Regions from separate parts of the Homo sapiens genome. Here all the other regions are linked to region 5. Evidence: promoter capture Hi-C in 16 types of primary human blood cells and fetal thymus (Javierre and others, 2016). All regions are on one chromosome and are shown on one strand. Each heading gives the region's core, a stretch centred on a gene start or on the middle of the fragment in contact. The rest is flanking DNA. Distances are from core to core; before and after follow the strand shown. Region 1 overlaps NUP214 (nucleoporin 214). Region 2 overlaps NUP214 (nucleoporin 214). Region 3 overlaps NUP214 (nucleoporin 214). Region 4 overlaps NUP214 (nucleoporin 214). Region 5 holds the start of POMT1 (protein O-mannosyltransferase 1).

Region 1 (2,959 bases), core at 402-2,901, 370 kb before region 5:
GAAGCAGGAGAATCGCTTGAACCTGGGAGGCAGAGGTTGCAGTGAGCCAAGATCGCTGCACTGCACTCCAGCCTGGACGACAGAGCGAGACTCCATCTCAAAAAAGAAAAAAAGACAATTGAGACAGACCTTGGTCTCAGTAATACATATTTTTGTTGTACTGAAATTGGGTCTACTGAATATAACATGTTTTAATTTCTTTCTTTATTGAATTGATCTCGTTTTGATTCTTCACAACAGGATTTTCAGTTTAGAGCGCTAAAGAAGGTGAGAATCTTTGACTCCCCTGAGGAATTGCCCAAGGAACGCTCGAGTCTGCTTGCTGTGTCCAACAAATATGGTCTGGTCTTCGCTGGTGGAGCCAGTGGCTTGCAGATTTTTCCTACTAAAAATCTTCTTATTCAAAATAAACCCGGAGATGATCCCAACAAAATAGGTAAGTTCCCTGGTTTATGTTGCAAAGTAGAGAGAGGAGTATGGTGGCATGCTCTTGTGTTTCCTTCCCAAGAAGTCATTCTAATACTAAAATGAACACTGCTGTCAGTTTGAAGGTTGACTCCCAAGAAGATTAATGGAAGCCTTTCTAGGTTTTCTCCTTGGTCCTTTGTATTTCTCCTTACATGAGTTGTTCCTCTCAGCTCAACAGGGAAGAACTTAACCATTATGCCATGCTTTTATTTTTGCTCAGTTGAACTTGGGCTCTGGCTCTCTGGGTGAAGGGTTTTATTGGCATGGGTTTTCAGTTGGCACAACAGTATGATCCAAACTATTGGCAAGGTGTACTATTTAGAGCATTGTTGCAAAAATATTTTCAACAAGGGCAGCAGCCACAGTTAGTTTCCCCAGATTGTATGAGGAAGAATTCCAGGGATACTTAATCCATCATTATATATCTTTAAGAAAGTTAAGATTTATCTGTATAACTAGGTATTGGGGTGTATGTGTGTTTATGTAGATGCAAAAATTTTTTCACATCGAACTGGATAGAGGTTGTGGCTTTATGCTTAGAACATACCGTTTTCTGCTTTGTATTTTTTTGTTTTCATAGTTGATAAAGTCCAAGGCTTGCTAGTTCCTATGAAATTCCCAATCCATCACCTGGCCTTGAGCTGTGATAACCTCACACTCTCTGCGTGCATGATGTCCAGTGAATATGGTTCCATTATTGCTTTTTTTGATGTTCGCACATTCTCAAATGAGGTAAGCTACTGTTATACTGTGATGTCAACATGAGAACCCTAAGCAGATTTCCTTGTATTGAATTACAACTTGGAAGCTTCATAGGTTAACCCTTGAAGTTTCTCTCTAGATTAAAATATGGGTTAAAAAAAAATCCTTAATTATAGAATCATAGATCTTTGAGACAGAAGGGACTTCAAGAAATTCTTTCATAACGCCATCTGCCCTAAGTTGTTATCAGGAGGCTTAGGTGACTTGCCCAAAGTCATAGATGAATACATAATGTCAAAAGTTCCTACATTTTGGATGTTCTTCCATTCCAAGCAGTTTAAGAATGATAATAATAGTGAGTGTTTATACTGACTGTGTGTGTTAGACTCTGTACTAAGTGCTTTATATGCCTTGTCCCTCGTTCATGCCTACCACAGCCTTATGTAGTAGGTACTATTATCTTCATTTTATAGGTAGAGAAACAGGCTCAGAGTTTAAGTAACTGTCCAAGGTCCCAACATTATTAAGAAGCAGAGCCAAGATTTTAATCTATTGTCTGCTATTTATTGGTTATTTTGCAATTGTGCATTCCCCTTCTGAGAGTCCCCCTAAGCATGTTAGAATAATTGATTGCCATTTTCAAAGTTGTGTTGAAATTGTCTATAGCAAATAGATTGATGCATAAAACAATCTTTTTTTATGGTTATGGAGAAAAATAAACTGATTTGAGATACCTTGTGTATTCAGTAATTTCCATTGAATATTAAATGTTTCTGCATTTACTATTTGTTAACTTATTTCACTTTTGCATATTTGTTTTAAAAGGCTAAACAGCAAAAACGCCCATTTGCCTATCATAAGCTTTTGAAAGATGCAGGAGGCATGGTGATTGATATGAAGTGGAACCCCACTGTCCCCTCCATGGTGGCAGTTTGTCTGGCTGATGGTAGTATTGCTGTCCTGCAAGTCACGGAAACAGTGAAAGTATGTGCAACTCTTCCTTCCACGGTAGCAGTAACCTCTGGTGAGTAATAAAGGCTTTCACACTGTAGCATACAATCATGGTCATCTACTTAAGAATTGATTTCTAGAAGTGAAAGTGGATAGCTTTTTGTGTTTTGGTTTTTTTTTTCATGACGAGGGAGGTTAAGGATGGAAGGTATTCTTTTTTGAGACAGTCTCACTGTGTCGCCCAGGCTGGAGTACAGTGGCATCATCTCAGCCACTGCAACCTCCACCTCCTGGGTTCAAGCAATTCTCGTGCCTCGGCCACCCAAATAGCTGGGATTATAGACATGCGCCACCATGCCCAGCTAATTTTTGTATTTTTTGTAGAGACAAGGTTTCACCATGTTGGCCAGGCTGGTCTTGAACTCCTGACCTCAAGTGATCTGCCCTCCTCCACCCCGCATATGCTAGGATTACAGGTGTGAGGCACTGTGCCCGGCTGAGAGTATTCTTTATACCCATAGTTAATGTCCTTGAAGCCAAACAGCATACATAATTTAACCTGAATGTACTTGGGATTTCTGGAGAAATATTTTGGTACAGCTGGTTTAGAAGTGTTTTTTGGGAATAATTGTTTCTGGATCTGTAACGGTGGTACTCTGAAAGTCATTTGTACCTTTGGGCGGAAAAGCATTTTAAATATTAAATGGGAGCAGGAGAATGATTTCTGGTTTTGTTTTTTTTTTTTTGTTTTTTTTTTGAGACAGAGTCTTGCTCTGTCGCCCAGGCTGGAGTGCAGTGGCGCGATCTCAGCTCACTGCAACCTCCACCTGCTGGGTTC
Region 2 (3,094 bases), core at 101-2,600, 340 kb before region 5:
TTCTATGTTCTACAAAATGTATGAATATATAACTATTTCGCTATAATTATTAGATGTAATATAAAAATTTAATAAGTAAAAAGACAAAAGCATATTGGCTAATAAGAATGTGGAGGTACAAAAGTAAATAGATGTAACAAAATATTCGTAGTTATATCTGCAAAACGGGATTAAGGAGAATTTTCCGTAATACTCTTCTGTATATTTCAAATTTTCTTTTTTAGAAAACATTTGTAATTAGTGTGGATAATTAAAAAGATGAGAGAAATGATGGCAAAGTAATGGGAAAACCTTTTAGCATAGTTTTTTATCCCTAGATATTTGGTTTTAAGCCACATATTTTCCACAAGGAGTAGAATGTCATGCACCATGAGAGCATGAAGTGCCCATTAGAAATTTGAAAAATGAATCAGCCATGAAATGTTAGATTTCTGAAACACCTACACTTGATTAATGATTAGCTAGCCCTGTATGAAAACAAACCAAGAAATGGTCTATTTGATGTACTTTTCAGTGGGACAACCTGGGTGTGATATCAGGGACAGGACTATAATATGCTTATAATTTAGTAAGCACAATTCAATAAATTACATTGTGTTATGTGGAGAAAGGCTAAAAATCCCAACTGGAGGACCCTCAGCTTGCAGCATAGATAGGTATAGGGAGATAGAAGTGAGAAGCTCTCCTCCGCCACTATCTAAGGGGAGAATTCTGTGGCCTGTGGACTGGAGCACTTGTCTCCATGGGCAGTGGGGCCCCATTAGAGAACTAGCTCACACACCTGGTTCTGATTCATGTTTAACCATATGGTTTGCTTTCCCACAAGGGAAACAATGGTCTAACCTTACAGTGGGTACATTCTGCTCTGCTCAATGGTTGTATTTCTTTTTGGTAATTAACAAGTTAGCCTTGTAAGAAAGTGCATGATGCTTAAAGAGAAGCCAAGCTTTTTTTTCCTTTGTAACAATTCTGTGGATTTACTACTTATGCTTTTCTGAGTTCTCTTTCTGCAGAGTTCAAATTCTTAAATCTGTACAATTTTCTATTTTGATAGCACTTCTCTGTTTCAGGGCCATCCCTGAATATTACCTTGAACCCTATTGAAATGCCTTTTTTTTTTTTTTTTGAGACTAAGTCTCGCTGTGTCACCCATATTGGAGTGCAGTGGCGCGATCTCGGCTCACTGCAACCTCCGCCTCCGGGGTTCAGGCGATTCTCCTGCCTCAGCCTCCTTGAGTAGCTGGGATTACAGGTGCGTGCCACCACACCTGGCTAATTTTTGTATTTTTAGTAGAGATGGGGTTTCACCATGTTGGTTAGGCTGGTCTCCAACTCCTGACCTCGTGATCCACCCACCTCGCCCTCCCAGAGTGCTGGGATTACAGGCGTGAGCCACCGCGCCTGGCCTGAAATGCCTTTTAAAAATTATATGTTGAACTACCTTGTTACCAGAGGCAGTCATTCAAGTCAGCCCTGAACTCAAAGAGGTAATGGGAAAAAGGGAAATAAATCCAGAGGTTTCTGTTTAGCAAGCATTTTTCATTCCATGATTTGTGTTGAGGCAAAATATACATAGAGTCACTTGTTGCTTAACGTGCGTTCTGAGAATTTCATTGTTAGGCGATTTTGTCATTATATGATCATCACAGAATGTGCTTACACTATGTGTACTTATTACCTAGATGACATCACCTATTACACACCTAGGCGCTTATGGTGTATAGCCTGTTGCTCCTAGACCACAGTACCATACAGCAAGCTTGTCCAACCCACGGCCTGCAGGCTTCATGTGGCCCAGGACAGCTTTGAATGCAATCCAACACAAATTCGTAAACTTTCTTAAAACATTCTGAGATTTTTTTGATTTTTTTTTTAAGCTTATCAGCCAGCATTAGTATATTTTATGTGTGGCCCAAGACAATTCTTCCTCCAGTGTGGCCCAGGGAAGCAAAAGATTAGACACCCCTGCTGTACAGCATGGTTTTGTACTGACTACTATAGACAATTGTAACACAAATCACTAGGCAATAGGAATTCAGCTCTACTGTAATCTTATAGGATCATCGTTGTATATGCAGTCCATCATTGACCAAAATGTCGTTATGTGGCACATGACTGTATTGACATACCATAGCAAAGAAAATTTGGTTTATAACTGATGTGGGATTATTCCTTATGTTTTTATATGTATGATTTTTCCTATCCCCTCTGCAAATTAATGCAGTCAGAAAAAAATTTCAAAGCTACTTAAAGATTTCTACTGAAAAGCGGAAGCAAATAGACCTGTCGCCCTCTACAGTCAGACCTACTTCCCAGAGGCAGCTACTGTTGTCTCTGTCTTGTTTTAGTTCTTTTGGGCAGGTTACCTTCCTGATGCTAAATCTTATGCTGTCCCCCTATTTCTTGACAATAGTCTGAAGAATTAACTGACTCCCATAGACTTCCAGTGAACCTTTTTTTTTTAATTGAATATAATTTACATTCAGAAAAACAGATAAATTCTAAGTAGAAAGCTGACTGGCTTTTTCCTGGTTCCTGACTCACACCTCACTCCTGCCCTTTTCTTCCCAGGGCCTCTCTCAGGTTTCACCTAATGTATGCTGTCCTTTGCTACAGGACTGGCCTGCCTGTTTCCAGCTGTTTTCTCCACATTCCATTTTATCTTCATTAGGCTTTCATCTCCTTTTTATTTTCTAGTAATTTCTTAATGGTTCTTGTCCAGTGCTGGTTCTCCATTTTATCATTTTCACTGTTACCATTGTAGTCTTGTTTGTTTTTTTACTGGGAGATTCCTTTACTTGAACCATTCATGTTTAATTCTTTTCTCATTGTTGTCAACAGGCACCTGCTTGTGCCAGAGCGAGAGACACTGTTTAACACCCTAGCCAACAATCGGGAAATCATCAACCAACAGAGGAAGAGGCTGAATCACCTGGTGGATAGTCTTCAGCAGCTCCGCCTTTACAAACAGACTTCCCTGTGGAGCCTGTCCTCGGCTGTTCCTTCCCAGAGCAGCATTCACAGGTGTGGAGAGGACTTGCACTCAATAAATATGGGTGAATGAATGCATGAACATTTAGGGAGTCTTAGAGTG
Region 3 (2,784 bases), core at 173-2,672, 320 kb before region 5:
AGAATCTTGCCATTGTGCTGAACAGGCCTGAAATCAAGTTGATCAAGTCAATGATCTGTAAAACGTTAAAATCTATTAGGATTGAGGATTGTTCCACTCAGCAGAAGGTGGTGTGATCTGTATTATCATGTTGGATGCAAAAATTTCTAAGGTATAGGCACCTTTGAATATGAAATATGAAAGATGTGCAGTCGTGGGCAAGATGTTCTGGTCACTTCTTTGAAAGAGGGAATAAAAGAGAATTAACTACAGGTCTGTCATTCTGCTTGTGATAACCACTTTCACCTTGGCCAGTGATGCAGTTAGTAATGAGCCACAAGCTTTGCTCAGGCTTCCTTAATTGCTAATTATAGAATGTCATTAAGTCTTTTGGGATACAATTTACAATTATAAGACGAAAGCTGATGAGGAGGTGTCAGATATATGCCTCTTAGTCTCTTCTCCCATTATTGTCCAAGCTCCATTTTCCACATTTTATTCATTATGCCTTTCTGTCTCACTAGGCCATGAGTTTCTTTAGAGAAGAAACTATAGATACATTTTGTATTCGCAGCCCCTAACACAGAGCCTGGCACATAATAAGCCCATGTTAAAGAAAGACAGTGAATGAGTGGCAGAAATCCTGAGTCTAGATGCTGTTAATCCTCTAGCTCAAGCTGCCCTTTTCCAGGACAGACCAGCAGTGTGGCAGGTGTCTCAGCTCTGTGTAGAAAAGCTGGCCAGAGAATTCTTTTCCCCTACTCTAGTACATTCGATTCAGTTACAGGAAGCCTTGTTCCATCACCTGTGTTAATGGAGTAGGCCAGGTGTTCCTTTGAACACAATGCTGCAAGAACTACCTAGAGTAGATTTCCTTCACATGATAAGGCTCTAATCTGCTTGGGCTCATGTCTTGGTTTTTCATTTATATGTGGCTAGAACTTTTTATCCTTTGCTGGAATTAATATGGTGTTCTCTCTTCTCTGTTTAAATTAGCTGTAAACACTTTGACTGAATCAACGTTGAAGAATGTCCCTCAAGTGGTAAATGTGCAGGAATTGAAGAATAACCCTGCAACCCCTTCTACAGCCATGGGGTATGTTCTGACTGCAGTGTGTTTCAGCCCCTGGCTGCTTCTGTAGTAGCGGTGGACTGCCTGCAGGGAGCAGCAGTGCCACTGTCACAGTCTGGTTTTCCTGCACCGCCTTAGGTTATAAGGGGGGTGGCGGCTAAGCCTGCCTACACAATGCATTTTCAGGAGACTGTCCTTTTTAACTGGCCGGTGACAGTTGCCTCACAAACTTTTAAAGTTTGTCTTGATGCTGTATGCTCAGTTTCTGTTTGCCATGTGTAAGTCTCTGTGTGGTACACATTAGGTGTGCAGGTTGATTTTTTTTTTTTTTTTAATGCCCTAGGGGTTCCAGAGTTGATGCTTTGGGTCTCATGCAGACTTGATTCTGGAAACTGTAATCTCAAGGGTGACACTCTCCTCCCTCACTTCCCTTCTCCAGGCATTTCTGTTCTTCCCATTTCTTTTGCTTTTGTATAAAAGACAGCACCTCTGTTTGGAGACTTTAGCTTCTCTGCCATGCCATGTTTGAGGGCTGGATTGTTGCTGGTGGAGCTCACTTGTTTTTTTGGTGGTGGTGGTGGTTTTGTTGTTGTTGTTGTTGTTGTTTTTTGTTTTTTGTTTTTTCTTAGACAAGGTCTCACTCTTGCCCAGACTGGAGTGCAGAGTGCAGTACGATCATGGCACACTGTAGCCTTAACCTTCTGGGCCCAAGCCATGCTCCCATATCTGCCTCCCAAGTAGCTGCTGGGACTACAGGCACATGACACCACACCCAGCTAATTTTTTAATTTTTTGTAGAGATGGAGTTTTTGCCATGTCACCCCAGGCTGGTCTCAAATTTCTGGGCTCAAGTGATCCTCTCACCTCATCCTCACAAAGTGCTGTGATTATAGGCAGGAGCCACTGTGCCCAGCCTAGCTCATTTGTCTTTAGTCCTCATCTGTGTTCGGAATTCAGGGTGCTGACTCCCTCCCGCTGCCCTGGGCAGGTTCGCAGAACATGCCTGTGCCCTGCTTTGCCCTGCATATTTTGTGACTGTGATCCCTTTAGACCAACCACCATCCCCTGTGGCAAAGGGAAGAGTTGAGGGACATTTCCTCACTTGGAACATGGGGATCTTGAGGACTAGTATCAGATTTCAGGGAGTTAGTGTCTGGTACCCATGATTAGTCTAGCAGCAAGAAGGGCAGCCATAGACCTTGTGGTTCTCCACAGCGTGCCCACCCTCTGCCATTGCACAGAGCAGATCTGCCCACGGTTCTGTTTTCCCTCTCTCAAGTGGCCCTGCCTCACTGGTCCGCTGGCCTCTTTTTTTCCATGTTGTTCTGTTTATCAACACTGCTTGTTTGAGGAATTTTTAGTTATCTCAGGGCCATACTAACAGCCAAAAAACAAGCCTTCTCTATTACTATTTTGTAGTGACCTCGGAGCCTTGGTATGCTGTTTAGACCAAGATGGTATTTGTGGTTGTTGCAAGCTTTTCAAGGGAAAGAACTATGCATTAGAGTTTGGGAATTGTAGCCAGATTCCCAGCATAGGGAAGGCAAGGCAGAATGTTACATAAGATGGGAAAACTCAGCATATGGTACAGGAAGTATTGTCTAGTGTTTCTGAGATATATTAGGTGCTAACCATGTATGAGAAGCACCTTTTGGAGATTCCACTTCTCCTTTTCTCAAGCTTCATTTCCCTAAATGGTTCATCTGAGCTGATCTTTGATGAAGGGTTTGTTC
Region 4 (2,922 bases), core at 240-2,739, 300 kb before region 5:
TTTTTGTATTTTTTTGTAGAGACGGGGTTTCACATGTTGCCCAGGCTGGTCTTGAACTCCTGGGCTTAAGCAATCTGCCTGCCTCGGCCTCCCAAAGTGCTGAGATTAGAGACATGAGCCACTGTGCCCAACCCTCTTTTCTTTTTTTTTGAGACAGGATCTCACTCTGTCACCCAGGGTGGAGTGCAGTGGCACAGTCACAGGTAACTGCAGCCTTGATCTCCTGGGCTCAAGCAGTCCTCCTATCAGTTCTCCAGAATAGCTAGGTCCACAGGTGCACCACCACGCCCAACTAATTTTTTCAGTTTTTTGTAGAGATGGGGTCTCACCGTATTGTCTAGGCTGGTCTGTAACTCCTGGCCCAAGTGATCCTCCCACCTGGACCTCCCAAAGTGCTGATGAGATTACAGGCATGAGACACCATACCTGGTCTCATAGTAGAATATTATCCAGCTATGAAAAGGAGCAGATTTCAGCTCCATGTATAACTAACAAGCACAATGTTGAGCCAAAGAAATAGAAAACATCACTGTGATAAACTCCATATTGTTACTTCCCCTTCCACTCCGTATTCTTCCACCACGGAAATTATGTATGCAATTGGAAGGGCCAAAGATTGAAATCAAGGTTTTTTCTATGATGGCAGGGGCCTTATTGTTTTTATTGATTGCTGTATCTCCAATGCTTAGGACTATGTCTGGCACATGATAGGCATTGTGGAAATGAATGAACTTTCAGGTAGCAGAAGTATCCTCAGAAAACTCTAAAGATGCTAGGCAGATTCTGGCTAGGATGTAAAAGAATATAGAAAACCTTCACTGCCATAATAACACCAAGAAAAATCCAGATGATGTAGAAGTCACACTTACTCTGGCAGTATTGGAATTATTTACTGCTGTATAACAAATTGCCTCAAAACCTAGTAGCCTGCAACAGCTACTTATTTATTATAGTCTTGGATTCTGTAGGTCATAACTTCAGATGGACTTAGTAGGGATGGCTTGTCTTCACAGTATCTGTGATCTCAGCTGGAAGAAGGGAAGACTGGAGGCAGGAGTCATCTGAAGGCTCACTCTGATGTCAGTGGTTGGCTTGGCTGTTGGCTCAGACCTTAGCTGGAGCTGTTAGCTGAACACCTACATTTGGCCTATGTAGCCTGGGCTTCCTCACAACGTGGTGGCTAGGTTCCAAGGAGGAACATTCCAAGAAAGAGGAAGAGCCATGCTGAAGCTGTATAACCTTTTATGACCTATCCTCAGAAGTCACAGAACATCACTTAGGCTGCATCCTCTTCATCAAGGCACTCACAAAGTCCCATCCAGGTTCAAGAGGAGATACAGAGGCCGCCTCTTGCTCTAGAAGAGCATATGTGACTAGAAGTATTGCTGTGATCATCTTTGGAAAATATCTGTCATAATGGGACCATTGAAGAGTGGCAGAAAGCCTTGTTGAACTGGTTTCCAGAGAGTGGAGCCCATCATAGGTGTGAGCACTGTGGCACAGCAGCTGCTGGGGGCAGATGCCAGGTCTGGGTTTGAGCAGGTAGTAGAGAGGACTTGCCAAAGACTGAGAAAATGTACTGGCTGGAGAAGGAGCTGTTGGCAGTGATGGGGGCAAGCAAAATAAATGACCAGTAATTACATGAAAAGGTGATCAAGTAGCATTAAACTAATGAGGGAAATGAAAATCAAAACCACAATTAGATAAGATACCACTTCACACCCCCTAGGATGGCTATCATTTAAAAAGTAAAAAATAAAAATAACCAGTGTTAGCAATGATACAAAGAAATTAGAACCCTCATACATTGCTGATGGGAATGCAAAATTGTGCAGCTACTATAGTTTGGTGGTTTCTCAAAAAGCTAAATATAGTACTTCTACCATATGACCCAGCAATTCTGCTCTGGGGTAGAATACCCAAAGGAATTGAAAAAAAGGGATTCGAACAAATACTTGTACATCAATGTTCATTGCAGCATTATTCACAGTAGCCAAAAGGTGGAAACAACCCAAGTGTCAAACAGCAGATGAATGGATAAACAAAATGTGGTATATACATTCCATGGGATATTTTTCAGCCATAAAAAGGAGTGAAGTTCTTGGCCGGGTGCAGTGGCTCACGCCTGTAATCCCAGCACTTTGGGAGGCTGAGGCGGGCGGATCACGAGGTCAGGAGATCGAGACCATCCTGGCTAACACAGTGAAACCCTGTCTCTATTAAAAATACAAAAAATTATCCAGGCGTGGTGGCGGGTGCCTGTAGTCCCAGCTACTCGGGAGGCTGAGGCAGGAGAATGGCATGAACCCAGGAGGCAGAGCTTGCAGTGAGCCGAGATCGCGCCACTGCACTCCAGCCTGGGCGACAGAGCGAGACTCCGTCTCAGAACAAAACAAAACAAAAACAAAAGGAATGAAGTTCTCGGCTGGGCATGGTGGCTCACACCTTTAATCCCAGCACTTTGGGAGGCTGAGGCAGGCATATCATGAGTCAAGAGATGGAGACCATCCTGGCCAACATGGTGACACACCGTCTCTACTAAAAACAAAAATTAGCTGGGCATGGTGAAGCTCGCCGGTAGTCCCAGCTACTTGGGAGGCTGAGGCAGGAGAATCGCTTGAACCCAGGAGGCGGAGGTTGCAGTGAGCCGAGATCACGCCACTGCACTCCAGCCTGGGCGACAGAGTGAGACTCCATCTCAAAAAAATAAATAATAAAAAGGAATGAAGTTCTCATTCATGCTACATATAGATAAACTTTGAAAACCATATGCTAAGGCTGGGCGCAGTGGCACACACACCTGTGATCCCAGCACTTTGGGAGGCTGGGATGGGCAGATTGCTTGAGCTCAGGAGTTTGAGACTAGCCTGGGCAACATGGCAAAATTCCATCTCTACAAAAAAAAAGACCCACAAGTTGGCT
Region 5 (3,137 bases), core at 1-2,500:
TCTGCCACGGAGTTTAGGGGAGATGCCCCCACTGGAGCCTCTGATGGTCATGCAGCCCCCACTGATGTCCAGGTTTTTTTGGTTTTGTTTTTTGTTTTGAGACGGTCTCACTTTGTAGTCCAGGCTGGAGTGCAGTGGTGAGACCAAGGCTCACTGCAGCCTCGACCTCTCTGCCCCAAGTGATCTCCTGCCTCAGCCTCCCTTGTAGCTGGGACTGCAGGCAGACGCCAAGGGGCCCCGCTAATTTTTGTATTTTTTTGTAGAGACGGGGTCTCGCTGTGTTGCCCAGGCTCTCCTGGACTCAAGCGGGCTCACGGATCCTCCCACCTCGGCCACCCAAAGTGCTGGGGTTACAGGCGTGAGCCACCGCCCCCGGCCCTAGGTCCGTTTTAAATGCCCTTACCCTCAGCCACTTCACCGCTAGATGTATGTGCAAGCAGGATCGTGGCATCGATGTTTTTCGGCAAGGAAACTAGGAGCGCCCGCGGGCGTGGGGGCACGTGCCTGTGGTCTCAGCTGCTCTGGAGGCCGAGGAGGGAGGATCGCTTCGGGCAGAGAGGTCGAGGCTGCAGCAAGCCGTGGTCCTGCCACTGTACTCCAGCCTGGGCGACAGAGCGAGACCCCGTGTCTTAAAAAAAAAATTAAGGTCGGACGCAGTGGCTCACGCCTGTAATCCCAGCACTTTGGGAGGCCGAGGTGGGCGGATCACTTCAGGTCAGGAGTTCGAGACCAGCCTGGCCAACATGGTGAAACCCTGTCTCTACTACAAATACAAAAATTAACCGGGCGTGGTGGCGTGCGCCTTCAATCTCAGCTACTCGGGAGGCTGAGGCAGGAGAATCGCTTGAACCCGGGAAGCGGAGGTTGCGGTGAGCCGAGATCGCGCCATTGCACTCCAGCCTGGGCAACAAGAGCGAAACTCCGTCTCAAAAAAAAAGAAAAGAAAAGAAAAGAAAAAAACTAGGAGCAAACTGGCGCGCCCGGCAGAACGCCGTTGTGCAGACGCAGAATTAAGATCTTCACGCCAGATGGAGTGAAAAAGCAAGGAGCAGAAGATGGGTGGGAGCCCACTGCGCTTTTTAAAATCTGCACGTCTGCTTAGAGTACACAGAAATCCTGGCACACAAAACAGTAGCACCCGAGAGAGGGGAGGTCGCCGCGTTTCACACCTGCCTCTCCTCCGGGACCGGCGCCCTCGCCCGCTGCGCACGCGCGTCACCCTCTCCCAGTGCGCACGCGCGCTGCTGCCCGTCTGGCCCCGCAGGCTCGGTGAATCGAACGTTGAGCAGGGCGGTGGGTGGTGCGGAGTGCCGAGCGGCCTCACCCCCAACCGTCGGCCCAGTCGGACGGTTCCGAGGCGTTGCCGGGAGCCGGGCGCGGCTCTGTGTGGACTCGGAGAAACGCGGGTACATTTGGGGACACCGGGGACGAGAGCCCAGCCCGGACTTGGGGGAGTCCGTCAGTGCCGGACGCGGGTCCCTGGCTTGCGGACGGGCTGGGGCCGGGGGCGTCCCCGTCTTTCCGGAGCTGGGGGCGGGGTTCGGGCCCGGGCAGATGCGGCGTTCGGGCGGCCGAGCCCCGAAGTAAGAACTCCGTGGCGCGTGCAGCCCTAGGGAGGAAGGGCGTGCTGCGGGTGCAGTCTCAGGGTGAGGACGGAGCTGGGGCCGACGCAGCCTCGGGAGTTGGTGGACGGGACAGGTGCGGCCTGTGGGGAAGAAGGGCCGGCCAGGGAGATGCGGTCTGCAAGGGGAGAGGAGGCACTCCCAGGACAGATGGGACCTTTTGGGACGAAGGCGCTCAAGGCAGATGCAGCTCAGGGAGGGAAGGGCGCGTCCAGGGTAGATGGGGCCTGAGGAGACCAGCGGGGCGCCAACGGCCAGATGCGGCTTTGGTGTGAGACAGGGTGTCCCAGGCCTGATGCAGCCTCAAGAGAAGCGGAGCTCAAGGGAAGATGAAGCCTGGAGGAGAACGTGGGGGCGCAGGGTGCAAATGCACCCTCCAGGCGAGAAAGGGAGCACCCGGGGATGATGTGCCGCTGGGATAGAAGGCAGGGAGGCACTGGGGGCAGATGCATCCTTGAGGAGAGATGAGGAGGCCCCGAGGCTCGGCCAGGTTGGGGTCCCTGGGCTGTAAGCAGCTGAGATGGCACCCAGGAGCTGCCCAGGGTCAGGTAGCTGTGGCCGCACTGTGGGCTTCTGGTCGTCGGGGAGGGAGGGGAGAAACCCTGGCGTTCCTTAGCAGTGTTCTCGCGCCCAAGACGTGCTCGGCAGGTTTTGTGGAATGAGTTGTTGAAAGGAGTGAATGTCCAGTCCTGAGATCCCCTGAATTCCCACCCGAGTTCACTGCTAGTGCCCCTCACCCCACATGTCTACCTGAACCAAGGCTCCAGGAACTTCGGTCTTTCTCAGCAGCCCGGCTGTGCTGTGGTTCTCCTCGTGTGTCCGGGAGCCGGGTGGCTGGGGATCCCTTCTGTAGCCTCTCGTGAGCCCTCATGGACCACGGCTCCTCCCTTCTTTTCTAGGGCGTCTGCCTGAGCCCGCTTTTCTACAAGATGTGGGGATTTTTGAAGCGCCCTGTAGTGGTGACGGCTGACATCAACTTGAGCCTTGTGGCCCTGACTGGGATGGGGTTACTGAGCCGGCTGTGGCGACTCACCTACCCGCGGGCTGTGGTGTAAGCTAAATGACTCCATTCCCAGGGTGAATCTAGAATTGTACTTTGTGACAGGAGGCGCCCTTACTGAATAGCATAAATGGGAGAGTGAAATCCTGGCTTCTTGGTGATAGGTGTTTTTGGCAGTGAGAGGAGAGACCAGTCTGTCCCCAGGACAGCCCCAGCAGAGTACACCTTTTAGGTCTTGCCTTCTGAGTCTGTAACAGGTGAAATTTGGCCCATTAAAGGGGTGCAGTAGAGGAAAATCTGGTTGCCAGCCTTAAGTAACAGTTTTAAAGTCTGGACGGCAGAGGATTAATGGATTTGGAAGTAAGTCTTCACTGTTGAGAGCACTTTTTAGAATGTGTTTTTGTCATAATGGGAAGTGATTGCTGTTATTATTGAAGGGCTCTTTATTAACTGATTAATGTGTGTATGTGTGTGTGTGTGTGTGTGTGTGTGTGTGTGTGTGTTTTTGAGACGGA

Evidence for each region. The method cuts DNA at HindIII sites, captures the fragments that hold promoters and counts their contacts. A CHiCAGO score of 5 or more calls a contact.
Region 1: a contact is called between a fragment that was not itself captured here and the fragment with the promoter of POMT1 in region 5, in 6 of 17 cell types (non-activated CD4 T cells, total CD4 T cells, naive CD4 T cells and 3 more). The highest score is 7.5, in non-activated CD4 T cells.
Region 2: a contact is called between a fragment that was not itself captured here and the fragment with the promoter of POMT1 in region 5, in 1 of 17 cell types (non-activated CD4 T cells). The highest score is 6.6, in non-activated CD4 T cells.
Region 3: a contact is called between a fragment that was not itself captured here and the fragment with the promoter of POMT1 in region 5, in 2 of 17 cell types (non-activated CD4 T cells and activated CD4 T cells). The highest score is 7.9, in non-activated CD4 T cells.
Region 4: a contact is called between a fragment that was not itself captured here and the fragment with the promoter of POMT1 in region 5, in 1 of 17 cell types (non-activated CD4 T cells). The highest score is 5.5, in non-activated CD4 T cells.

What each region holds. Positions count from the first base shown.
Region 1 is chr9:131,127,284-131,130,242 of GRCh38, forward strand. NUP214 (nucleoporin 214) reads left to right here. Exons shown (of 36, transcript NM_005085.4): 2 at 241-436; 3 at 1,049-1,200; 4 at 1,996-2,194. Among named protein-coding and RNA genes, the nearest start is that of NUP214, 3.2 kb to the left of the region's middle. The HindIII fragment of the contact is 755 bases long and covers 1,275-2,029 here.
Region 2 is chr9:131,160,150-131,163,243 of GRCh38, forward strand. NUP214 (nucleoporin 214) reads left to right here. Exons shown (of 36, transcript NM_005085.4): 19 at 2,842-3,024. Among named protein-coding and RNA genes, the nearest start is that of NUP214, 36 kb to the left of the region's middle. The HindIII fragment of the contact is 813 bases long and covers 945-1,757 here.
Region 3 is chr9:131,177,336-131,180,119 of GRCh38, forward strand. NUP214 (nucleoporin 214) reads left to right here. Exons shown (of 36, transcript NM_005085.4): 24 at 976-1,075. Among named protein-coding and RNA genes, the nearest start is that of NUP214, 53 kb to the left of the region's middle. The HindIII fragment of the contact is 2,208 bases long and covers 319-2,526 here.
Region 4 is chr9:131,206,313-131,209,234 of GRCh38, forward strand. All of the region lies in intron 30 of NUP214 (nucleoporin 214), which reads left to right. Among named protein-coding and RNA genes, the nearest start is that of FAM78A, 69 kb to the right of the region's middle. The HindIII fragment of the contact is 5,048 bases long and covers 1-2,922 here.
Region 5 is chr9:131,501,668-131,504,804 of GRCh38, forward strand. POMT1 (protein O-mannosyltransferase 1) reads left to right here and starts at 1,251. Exons shown (of 20, transcript NM_001077365.2): 1 at 1,251-1,406; 2 at 2,522-2,673. The coding sequence starts at 2,552. RefSeq lists enhancers at 1,037-1,904, 1,905-2,770, 2,142-2,201, 2,682-2,761, 2,772-2,841 and silencers at 1,152-1,351, 1,422-1,571. The HindIII fragment of the contact is 12,581 bases long and covers 1-3,137 here.